Linked DNA regions of Homo sapiens: all the other regions are linked to region 2. Evidence: promoter capture Hi-C in 16 types of primary human blood cells and fetal thymus (Javierre and others, 2016). All regions are on one chromosome and are shown on one strand. The core of a region is centred on a gene start or on the middle of the fragment in contact, and the rest is flanking DNA. Distances in the headings are between cores, read along the strand shown. Region 1 overlaps REPS2 (RALBP1 associated Eps domain containing 2). Region 2 holds the start of RBBP7 (RB binding protein 7, chromatin remodeling factor). Region 3 overlaps REPS2 (RALBP1 associated Eps domain containing 2).

Evidence for each region. The method cuts DNA at HindIII sites, captures the fragments that hold promoters and counts their contacts. A CHiCAGO score of 5 or more calls a contact.
Region 1: a contact is called between a fragment that was not itself captured here and the fragment with the promoter of RBBP7 in region 2, in 1 of 17 cell types (neutrophils). The highest score is 5.5, in neutrophils.
Region 3: a contact is called between a fragment that was not itself captured here and the fragment with the promoter of RBBP7 in region 2, in 5 of 17 cell types (M1 macrophages, naive B cells, erythroblasts and 2 more). The highest score is 6.9, in M1 macrophages.

The regions. Positions count from the first base shown.
Region 1 is chrX:17,000,697-17,004,152 of GRCh38, forward strand. The region is part of intron 1 of REPS2 (RALBP1 associated Eps domain containing 2); the gene reads left to right. Among named protein-coding and RNA genes, the nearest start is that of REPS2, 56 kb to the left of the region's middle. The HindIII fragment of the contact is 2,430 bases long and covers 610-3,039 here.
Region 2 is chrX:16,868,531-16,872,089 of GRCh38, forward strand. It overlaps RBBP7 (RB binding protein 7, chromatin remodeling factor), which reads right to left and starts at 1,832. Exons shown (of 12, transcript NM_002893.4): 1 at 1,508-1,832; 2 at 546-690. The coding sequence starts at 1,523. RefSeq lists enhancers at 749-838, 1,848-2,526 and silencers at 1,059-1,398, 1,419-1,468, 1,799-2,108. The HindIII fragment of the contact is 7,607 bases long and covers 1-3,559 here.
Region 3 is chrX:17,059,689-17,063,394 of GRCh38, forward strand. REPS2 (RALBP1 associated Eps domain containing 2) reads left to right here. Exons shown (of 18, transcript NM_004726.3): 9 at 2,750-2,844. Among named protein-coding and RNA genes, the nearest start is that of REPS2, 110 kb to the left of the region's middle. The HindIII fragment of the contact is 2,230 bases long and covers 943-3,172 here.

The DNA.
Region 1 (3,456 bases), core at 575-3,074, 130 kb after region 2:
AAAATTCAAAACATAATAACTGAGGACTTTTTTTTTTGGTAATACAGGTCTACTCATAAGAAGAACAGCATTCTTACTTTGGGGATAACATTTTGCTTAATGGGATTCAAAGAATAGTGTTCCCTTTCATCAAATCGATTGCAAATGTTCATCTGTAAATACCATTTATTTTCTCCTTGTGGGCCATAGAAAACCAAGCAGTGGGCTGGATTTGACCCATGAGCGGTAGTTTTCCAACCACTGATGTAATGGAAAGACCATGAGCTTTGGACCTGGATGCATGTAGGTTTGAGTACTGGCTCTGAATTTGTGACCTTGAACATATCACTTAACTTTCTGAATTGGGAAGGTTTATTTGTGTATAAACTGAGTGTAATGACACCTATCTCATGGAAAAAATATTACCCCCATCTTTGTGATTTTGCATTAGTATTCTAGTTCTGTAGATGCTGATATGATTTAGCTAGACTTACCTAGAAAATTAGTATTTAACTGATTTTAAAGCTGACTTTTCAAGGGATAGAACACTCACATGGTCTTAAAGTACAATGTAAAAACATAGCTTTGCAATGAAGAGATCTGGCAGTCACCACATTAATCAAATGACCAAGCTTTGCAATCAGTACCAATGGTGGGATGTTCTGACATTGTGTGCCCCTCACTGCTGTGTACCTCTCACTATATCTCAGTATCACCTGTGTGGTGTTCTTGCCAGAAACTTTTGACTTTAATGTAATCACAATAAAACAGACAAATCCAAAACATGGGATGTTCTGAGGACAACTGGCCTGGATTCTTAAATGATTCAGTGTCATTAAGAACCAAGGGGGATTGTTCTAGATTAGGGGGAGACTAAGGGAAAATGAGATAAAAATGCAGTGCATGAACATTGACTAAATCCTGGATGAGGAAAAGAAAATTCAGCTCTGTAGGCATTTTCTGGATAATCAAGGGAATGTGAATGTGGACCATATGTTGTATGTTAGTCCATTTTCACGCTGCTGATAAAGGCATATCCGAGACTGGGAAGAAAAAGAGGTTTAATTGGACTTACAGTTCCACATGCCTGGGGAAGCCTCAGAATCATGGCAGGAGGCAAAAGGCACTTCTTACATGGTGGTGGCAGGAGAAAAATGAGGAAGAAGCAAAGGCAGAAACGCCTGATAAACCCACCAGATCTCATGAGACTTGTTCACCATCACAAGAATAGCATGGGAAAGACCGATCCCCGTGATTCAATTACCTCCCCCTAATTGTTCAAGTCCCTCCCACACACGTGGGAATTCTGGGAGATACAATTCAAGTTGAGATTTGGGTGAGGACACAGCCAAACCATATCATGTTGTATGATAATATTGTGTTAAAGTTGATTTCCTTGGGTGTGGTGATGATGGTGCGGTGGTGTACGAAAATATCCCTGTTCTTAGAAGGTGAATAGTAAAGTACTTAGGGGTGGTGTGTCATGAGGTGTGTCTGTAACCCACTTTTCAGATGGTTTGGCAAAATGGGAGGGAAGGAGGGAGGGAGAGAGAGAATGTGTGTGAGTTTGTGTGTATGTAGAATAGGTGATTCTGTGCATTGCTGCTCAGTTCTTAGCATAGCACTCAGCACATTGCTTTTGATAGGGAGGTGCCCAACCAAAACTTGTTAAACTAACAAGTACTTTAAGGTTTTAGTAGGATTCTCTGAAATCACACCTCAGCACTGCCTGTCTGCCCTCTCTTTAGCAGTGTCATTTGGCTTAGGCATATACTATAATGCCTAATGTTGGGTAATCAGATATGGGGGTTCATGTTTTCTTGAGTAGCTCACCCATGTCCCTCTGGACTGAAAGTCTCTCTTGAATGTTACAGTATAAATGAATGGGAAAGGAAAACCCAGCATAGAGGTTGACCTGCGTGTTCAGCTGTTCCCTGAGAGGCTGAGGTACAATTTGTAAGCATGTACTTCAGATTCTCTTCTGTATTTCTGTTGCTGAGTTTGCCCACTTGGGGAGGGTTGACACCTCCTGGGGCTGTGCTGAGTAGGAGGTGCATCTCTGGAGTTCTGACTGGCTGGAGCATCACTGAGGTATTCTCCTGGGCTATGAGGGCTAGGGCCAGGATAAAGAATGGTGGATGCCTTTCCTTATGCCTTGATCCTAACCGGTACCCTCTTAGCTGAGCAGGAAGGGAACAGAGAAATTAATATTCTCTTATATTCCTGCAGGAACTCTTATGGCTATATGGTGTGAGATGACTAAAGCCAATTTAGCAGCTACTTGTAAAAGTAATAAAAATGGAGGGGAAGAAGAAAGATTCTGATGCAACAGGCTGTGAAGACTAATTCAACATTTATTTATTGAGCTACTGAGCATATAGCAGGCATAGTAAAGTATGAGTCCTGGGGGATACAAATAATAAGAATATACCCTCGCTTTCTGCTGGGCACTTAGGGCATAGGGAAAGGAGATGGGCTACAGTGGAGATAATTATCAAAATACCAATTGTGCTGTGTTGCAAGGCTAGGGATGTGTTAGAAAGCTAGTAAAAAGTGTTATGGGAATGCAGAGAACATGCCATGTGGAATTGACTACAGTTTCAAAGATAAGGTTGGTCTTGAGGTGACTTGAAGAATGAGCCTGGCAGGCAAAGAAATGGGCATCTGGTGTGACTAAAGTCTTAATTAGCTGTAGGGTGGGGAGGAGAGAGACATGACGATGTTGGAAAGGTAGTTTGGGCCAGACAGGAGGGCCTCAGAAGCCATGCTTGGTTTCACAGGAAGGGCGTGAAGAGTCCCAGAAGCCCTTTGAAGTTGGAGGGTGATGTGGTTTTGATAAGAGGTCACGGAGGGAATGTAGAAGCTGGTGTGTGAAGGTGTGTGAGTCTGGAGACAGGACTTGAAACAGTCGAGGCGAGAGCAAAGAATCTGGATTTTGCTAGCTGCAGCAGAGGGAGAGTAGAAAATGGGGTGCTCTTGGAGAATTCTTCCAGCCCCTCCTACTAGGAGTTTTTACATTTTCAAATCTTTCTAAGGAAACCTTTAATAATACTTGAGAGAAGCTTATTTAAACCTTTGAACAGTTCTGAAAATGTATTACATTTCAGCCAGGAAAGAAAGTATTATTTCAGGCAAACTGGAACATGGTTACTCAGCACAGTCGCCTAATCTTATAGAATTAGGTAGGAGGGAAGCTATGTTAGTGGCCTTCAACCTTCTTCCAGAACTTTGTTCAGATTTCTCCCAAATGGTCGGTGAATTTTTCTGATTTGTATCCAGCATCCCAGCCATTTAGTGTACATCCGTAAGCTGTAAGGAAGTTGATTTAATCTATTTCTTTTTTTCATCTCTTGCCTTCCACCTGAGAAAACACTACTCCATAGGTTCTTATTCTGTATTAGGAATTTGCACAATGTGTAACCTAAGATGGATCCAGCTGGGAGTTGGATCCAGCTGGGAGTGTTACAGGTTTGGAGT
Region 2 (3,559 bases), core at 582-3,081:
CAGATGTAACAGAAAAGAATACTCTTATGAAGACTAACAGCAATCTCAAAGTGTATTCCATAAGCCGATAACATCTTTTCTTTGGTCAATTGTTGACAAGGTCTTTTTCCCTTTACCAATTAAAATGTATTTATCTTGGATGACTGTTACGTGTGTTCACTTTGTAAAAATTTATCAAGCCATACAACACTTAAGATGTGTGAACTTTTCCGTAAATATTCTATTTTTCAGTAAAGTTTTAAAGAAACGCATTAGTTTGGGCCCAGAAAGATGCTGCTCTACATTCAAGCCCAGGAAATGTCAAATATATTCAGTGCTTCCTCCAAACACGATTAATCTCACAACAGCTTCTTTCTCCCCTTTTACCACCACACTATACACCAGAAATCATCCCACAAATCACGTAAGTTTTGAAAATAAAAACCACCTGCCACCTCATGCAAGGGCTGATTACATACTTATGTTCTATGCATAAAACGCCAAAACTAGGAAATTCAGAACGACAGTTAAATTTAAACAAAATAAAAGTTGCCAGAAACCCTTACTTAGTCACTTCAGGAAGCCACTGAACGGTAAGACTGGGCCACTGAAGAGCATGGGTCATAACCAGGTCATATAGAAACGGTGTATTCTTCTTCCAGATTTTATATTCTTCATTGATGACACGCTCCTCCACAGTATCTTCAAACACTGAAATTTGGAGAAAGCCCACACGATTAAGTGGCTGAGATAGATCAAAGTCAGAAATTGGAGGTCACCTCAAGATGGCCACACCTCATGTACTCTTTCCTTTTACCTCTAATTTGGACACGGACAACTAACTGCTCTTCCAGAAGGTGGAGAAAATACTAACAATCAGGAAGCCTATTTTTTCCATTGAGATCAATACCCCCTGCGTACACCATGTTGGGTAGTCAATTACACGGACATGGAAATTGTTTACCCTGTTACAGCTGTTCGCACCTGTTCTAAGATGACGACCTGTACGTACAGGGGCTGCGCGACCCAGTCGGGAAGACAAATGCACGTGTAGCAGAAGCCCACAGGCCTGGTCTCTCCAATCCCCATCAGGGGAGGCCCCAGCTCCCACGACGCCCGCCTCGGCAGCCATAGGCCTGAGGACCCCAGCAACCCCCGGACAAGGGCCGCGACCCCGAGGCGGTCAACGCGCGCGCGCGCGTAGAAAGAGCCGCGGCGCTCGCTTCCCAGCGGCGGGGGCCGCCTCCGCCCCGGGGCCGAGGGCGCCGGAGGGAGCGCAGCCGCTGGAGGAGGGAAGGGAAGAGGGGGGCCCAGCCCTCGGCCCCGCGCCCGGCTCCGGAAGTGCTCGGAGCCCTCGGCGCGGCGGTCCCGTCCCGCGCAGGCCCCTCGAGGCGCGCGCCCAGTCTCGCGCCCGGCCCCGCCCCCTGCTCCGCACGCCAATTCGCGCCTTTCGCCGGCGCGTGCCGCGGCCTCGCGCGCCCGCCGCCCCCCGCGGCCCCGGCGCGCGCCGCCCCGCAGGGCCTCTTACTCTCTTTACTCGCCATCTTGCGTCGGGTCGTTCGCCCCTCGCCGCCGCCTCGGACTCCTCTCGTTAGCCAAGAGCAGCCCGACCGCTGGCGCTCCTGCCTTTCCCAAGCGCGTCACACTCCCCACTGTCGAAAGCCCGGGCCCCGTCTTGCTGCCTGGGTGCTCCCCAGACGCCGCGTCCTTCTTTCCTGCCTCCTCCCCGCTCGCGGGTACCGAGGTCTGAGGCGCTCTTCTCTCTCTCTCCAAACTTGGAACGAGACTTTTCAACCCGCGCCTCCCAGCCCGCCCAGGCAGCTGAGCGCAGGCGCATCCGCCCTGGGAAAAGTGAGAGGAGGCGGAGAGGCGGGTCTGGGAGCCAACGGCTCCGGCGCCGAGACCAATGACGCGCGGCGGGCGGGTTTCACGCGGCGTTCGGAGGCGGGCTTCTGGGGGTGGGCGGAGCGTGCCGCGGCAGGAAGTTGGCGATGCGCAGGCGCGAGGGCTCGCCCGGCGCTCCCAGGGCCGGCCGCGGAGGCGGATGGGGCGCGCGGGGGCGGGGCGGATGAGGGCCCGAGGGGGCGGGGCGGATGGGGGCGCGCGAGGGCGGGGCTGATGGAGGCGCGGCTGGCCGGCTGAGTGGGGGCCGCGAGCCCCGGGGCGGCGAGCCTTGGGGCCCGCGGGGCGTGGTTGCTTGTAGCGGCAGCGGTGGTGGGGGTGAGAGGGGGGCAGGGAGGCTGCCGCCGCTTAGCCAAGCAAAATCTCAGAGCAAGAGGGGAAAATGGTTCCTGTTCTCGAGAGATTACTGTGCCTTCAAAGTCTCCCTGATAATCACGGACATGCAATTCTCTGCACCCCTGAAATGTTCTCCTCCAGCCGACTGGCCTTTCCTGGGGCCCGGTCGGGCCGAGGTGGGGCTGGTCTCAGACGGAGGAGAGCTTTTGGAGAGGCCGCGGGCGTTTTCTGCCTGCAAAAGCCGCCGGGCCGCCCTGTTAGGCTAAATGTGCAGCCTGTGGCGGCACAGGCCGCCGGCGGGCCGAAGCCGATTTACACTGTTACATTTTAATTTGTTCGATGTTTGGGTCCTTAAGATGATGGTTTGCGGCCTCTTCGCGCTTCAGGGGATTTTGTCCCTGCACTGGCGTTCCTTTCTCATCCCAGCCCCGGCCCCTGCTGAGTCATTTTTGTCACCTGCAGGGGTCCCAGCGCGACCCCACCCCAAGCTGGCGGAGCTGGAGAGAGCAGGGCTGAACTACCCTGGGCCTGCTTACCTGAGCCCTGCTCTGCTCAGGAACTTCATAGCCCCTGAGGAGTGTGTCGGGGGAGGAGAAAGCTGGCTGCAAGGCCAAAAGGGAAATAGAAGAAAATGAGGGCCAGGAGCAGAGGGGACGGAGTTGGGGGAGGCGACCAAGGTGCCTGCGTGCAAAGGGAACCGAAGTGTACGTCCAGCTCCGGGAGAGGCTCCTCTTGCAAAAGCACCCCCGGAACATTTGCTGCCTTGATACCTTTCCAAGTGCCTTCATGCTCAGATGCTATCTTGCAGATGCCGCTGTCATGCCCACTTTTCTGACCGGGACGCAAACCCAGACGTTAGTCAGTGGCAGAACCAGTCACATTCCCTTCTGTAGATATTTACTGTGTTGTTTCCGATACAATACCGTTCATTATTATAACGCCCTCCCCCCATTCTGGGTCAAGGAATCTTGTTAGTGCCTAAGGCTGAGGGGGTGGCTAGAGAGGGAAGAGAGTTGGAAGGGTGTTTAAGCAATACAGCCCTCATATTCTAGGACATTAGTTGGCAAGACTTTTTCTAAAAGGACCGAGATAGTAAATATTTTAGGCTTTGGGGGCAACTGCTCGACTCTGTCGCTTTGCAGCGCAAAGCAGCCATGGAAAATATGGATGCATTTGGCTGCGTTCCGATAAAACTACAGACACTAAAATCGTTTTCACGGGTCACAAAATCTTTTGATTTTTTTTTTCTATCACTTGAAAACGGAAAAACCATTCTCAGCTCGAGGGTCATACAAAAACATGTGGTGGGTTAGATTTAGTCGGAGGACTGTAGTTTGCCCAC
Region 3 (3,706 bases), core at 808-3,307, 190 kb after region 2:
ATTTCTGGCCTCAAGTGATCCACCCACCTCGGCCTCCCAAAGTGCTGGGATTACAGGCATGAACCACCCACCACACCTGGCCTGTTTTCTAAAATAATGGAACAGGAATTGTATCTGATGCCATTTTACTTGCAATTATGGAAATAGTCCCTTTTCCCTAATAGTAAAACTTCAAGGACAGAGTTGTATTAGTTGGTGGCTTACCCGCTAGCCTTTTGATAGTTTCATCAAAAGTCTCCTTTTGATAGTTTCATCAAGAGTCTCCTTTTGATAGTTTCATCAAGAGTCTCCTTTTGATAGTTTCATCAAAAGTCTCCTTTTGATAGTTTCAGCTGGGTGGGGTGGCTCACGCCTGTAATCCCAGCACTCTGGGAAGCTGAGGCAGGAGGATCAATTGAGGTCAGGATTTTGAGACCAGCCTGGGCAGCATGGTGAAACCCTGTCTCCACCAAAAAATACAAAAATTAGCCAGGTGCGGTGGCGTGCACCTGTGGTCCCCAGCTACTCGGGTGGCTGAGGCAGGAGAATTGCTTGAACCTGGGAGGCAGAGGTTGCAGTGAGCCGAGATTGCGTCACTGCACTCCAGCCTGGGTGACAGAGTGAGATTCCATTTCAAAAATAAAATAAAATAAAAATAAAAAAATAAAAAAAGTCACCTTTTGATAGGTGATTGGGTGGGTTCTGGTAGAAATTTTTGCCATAGAGTTTGTTAAAAAATACCTATGGAGTACTTACTGCGTGAGAGGTACCACATTGTTCACTGTGGTCAGAATGCTGTATGACAGAGCTCCTACTCCCATGAACTTGTGGGCAGTTGATACGTGCCATGAAGGGGAAGTACAGGTGCAGCAAGAGGGTGCATGATCTTAGGGAAGATTTCCTTAAACGTTTGGGCTGAGATGTGAAGGCTGAGCTAAGGACTACATAGGTGAAGAAGAGAGAAGCTTAGGTTCTGGGAAGGGGGAACAGCAGGTATGCTGGGGAGGCTCTGAGAGGGGGCTTGGAGCATAGGAGGAGTGGGAATTTCAGGCCACAGTGGCTGGCGTGCACAGAACCGGGGTAGAGAGGCTGGGTTGAAGCTGAGGAAGAAGGTGGGGAACATATGACGGGCAATAATGTCACCTTATTTTAGGCAGATAAGTGACACAATCAGATTTGCTATGTGAAATGATCATGCAGGTTACTGTCCAGAGAACAGGTTTTGAGGGGCACGGGTAGAAACCAGAAGACTAAGTTGTGGTAGCTGGCCAGTCAGGAGCAGCGGGGTGCTTGCAATGGGGAGGTGACAGTGATATGGAGAGATGTGGACACCTTGGAGAGAGATTTAGCAGGTAATTGACAAAATTATAGTTTTGGAAAGTGTTAGCTTTCTTCACAGGAAGATCCGCTCATGATAAAGCATCAGTCATATAATACCAGTCAGAGCCTTGATTGATAGACTAGAAAGAGAAATCGGTGAAATTCAGACCAGAGTAAGCAAATGAACAAATTAAGGTGCTTGTACTCAACTCCATGTGGTGCTGATACTCAGACCAGTACTTCCTTACTTACTTACTGTATGTATGTATGCATGTATGTATTTATTTAAATTAGATAGACACGTAGGTAGGTAGGTAGGTAGATACAAAGACAGATGAAACAGGGTCTCACTATGTTGCCCAGGCTGGTCTCAAACTCCTGGGCTCGAGCAATCCTCCTGCCTTGGCCTCCCAAAGTGCTGTCATTACAGGTGTGAGCCACCATGCCTGGCCAATGGCCAGTACTTTACTGCAGAAGGATATTGGCATTTCAGTCCCTGATGGGAGTGGGAGGGTGGGGAAGGATTAAAAACAATGCCAATCCACTTTTCACATTTGATTCAAATTTTTTTAAACCTTGCATTACAATTTTATTTCCTAATAGCTTGTTGTGACAAATTTGATTTGTAGCTTCTGTTTATTATCTGCCACAGTCTGCTTTTCCTCTTTGGAATATTGACAAATTTTCTAGCTGTTGAGATATTTCTTTCCTAATTACTTTGTGACAAAGTAGTGAAGCAGAATCCGCTTCTAAGACATAGCCTGGTGTGAAGTAATTAGCTTACCAAGTAGCCTGATCTTTCCTCGTGTGAATTCACTCAACTACCGAAATAACAGCCAGTGTCACTATTGCATATTGAAAGAAACCCTTAATGTGATTCTTTTTTTCTTTGTTGTAAATCAGCAAGAATTTATGCTCTTATTTTTATCATTCCTGCCAACCAAGGAGATAAATATTTCGTAAAATCATGTTGGGTGCACATCATTATAAGATCTTGCCTATTTCTAACAATAGTTAAATGATGTATTTCCTTAGTTAATGTCCCTATACATTAGAAACTACACTAGTAACATAGTTAAGACTTACATATTGTGATAGTGATGGTTATTGTGGAAAATTACTATGCTATAACATGAAGTGTTCAGAGCACATACCCTTCAGCCAGACTGCTGAGAGTTCAAGTCCCTGCTCTTCCATTTATCAGCTGTATGACCTTGAGTAAGTTGCCCTGTTCTCAGTTTCATCACATGTGAAATGGGGATAATAGAAGTACTGGGTTGTCCATATAAAGAACTGAAAGTACTACCTCAGCATGATGAATGCCATATGTGGTCTATCAGAGCTAGCTGATTTTGTTGTTATATTTAACAAGCACAGAAAAGCTGATGGGAAACACTGATTACTATGGCTATAGGAAATATTCTGATATATTCTTTTTGTTTCTTCTTAGCTTTTCCTAAGCCCAAATGGGACTGTCAATTATTTGATTCTTATTCTGAGTCACTGCCGGCAAATCAACAACCTCGTGACTTGAATCGGATGGAGGTAAAAGATCTTCATATGCTAATAAATAAGGATGTGTATGGAGCTAAATCCATTGGCCTATGTTCTTTACAAATTCTGGAAAATGAACTTTTTTTTTGTTTGAAAATGAGCTTTTATAACATTTCCTTTTCATACTTGGTAATTATTAATACTTTGATGCTCAGCCTTTCAGATCTAGACACCAGATGTATCTATAATTTTTTTCCCTTTTCTCCCTAAAACTGGATGTGGTAAAGTAAGTAACATAATCTCTAGACCTTCTAGATGTGAAATGTAGATATAGCCAAACTAAGACAGAAAATTCTAGCCAAGTTATTTACTTTAACCAAGCTTTAATTCCCTAGTAAACAATTTTGATTCTATTTTTATCAGTTGGGCATTAATAAGCTATACTGAATCAGAACTGTTTTGAGAAGAGGTTTGAGAACTTTATATGAGGGCCCCAAATCACATTCGGAACTCCCTCAGGGTTTTTAGCTTTTGAACCAAATGAGGACTGATTTGGATGATCCCCAGAAGGAACTTGGAGAATTCCCCCAGTGTTGGGCCATGGATGGAAGGGCTTAGCCAAGTGCTTAGGAAGCCTTAGCTATGGATCAATAAATAGGAGTTGTTATAGTTATTGTTGTCATCACCATTGTCATTATCATCATCATCACCATTATGATTACTGTGATGACAATTTAGGATACCTGCTTTTCCCTTCCTTAAAAGATCTGGAAATGTTTAATAAATGGAGCTTTATTCACAGACTCCATAATAGTCAGAGACTATTAGAGTCCTCTGACCCTAGTTGAAACCACTGCAAGATGATAGAAGTCAAAGTCAGGGAACAGGGACATTTCTTTAATTTCTTGTGACT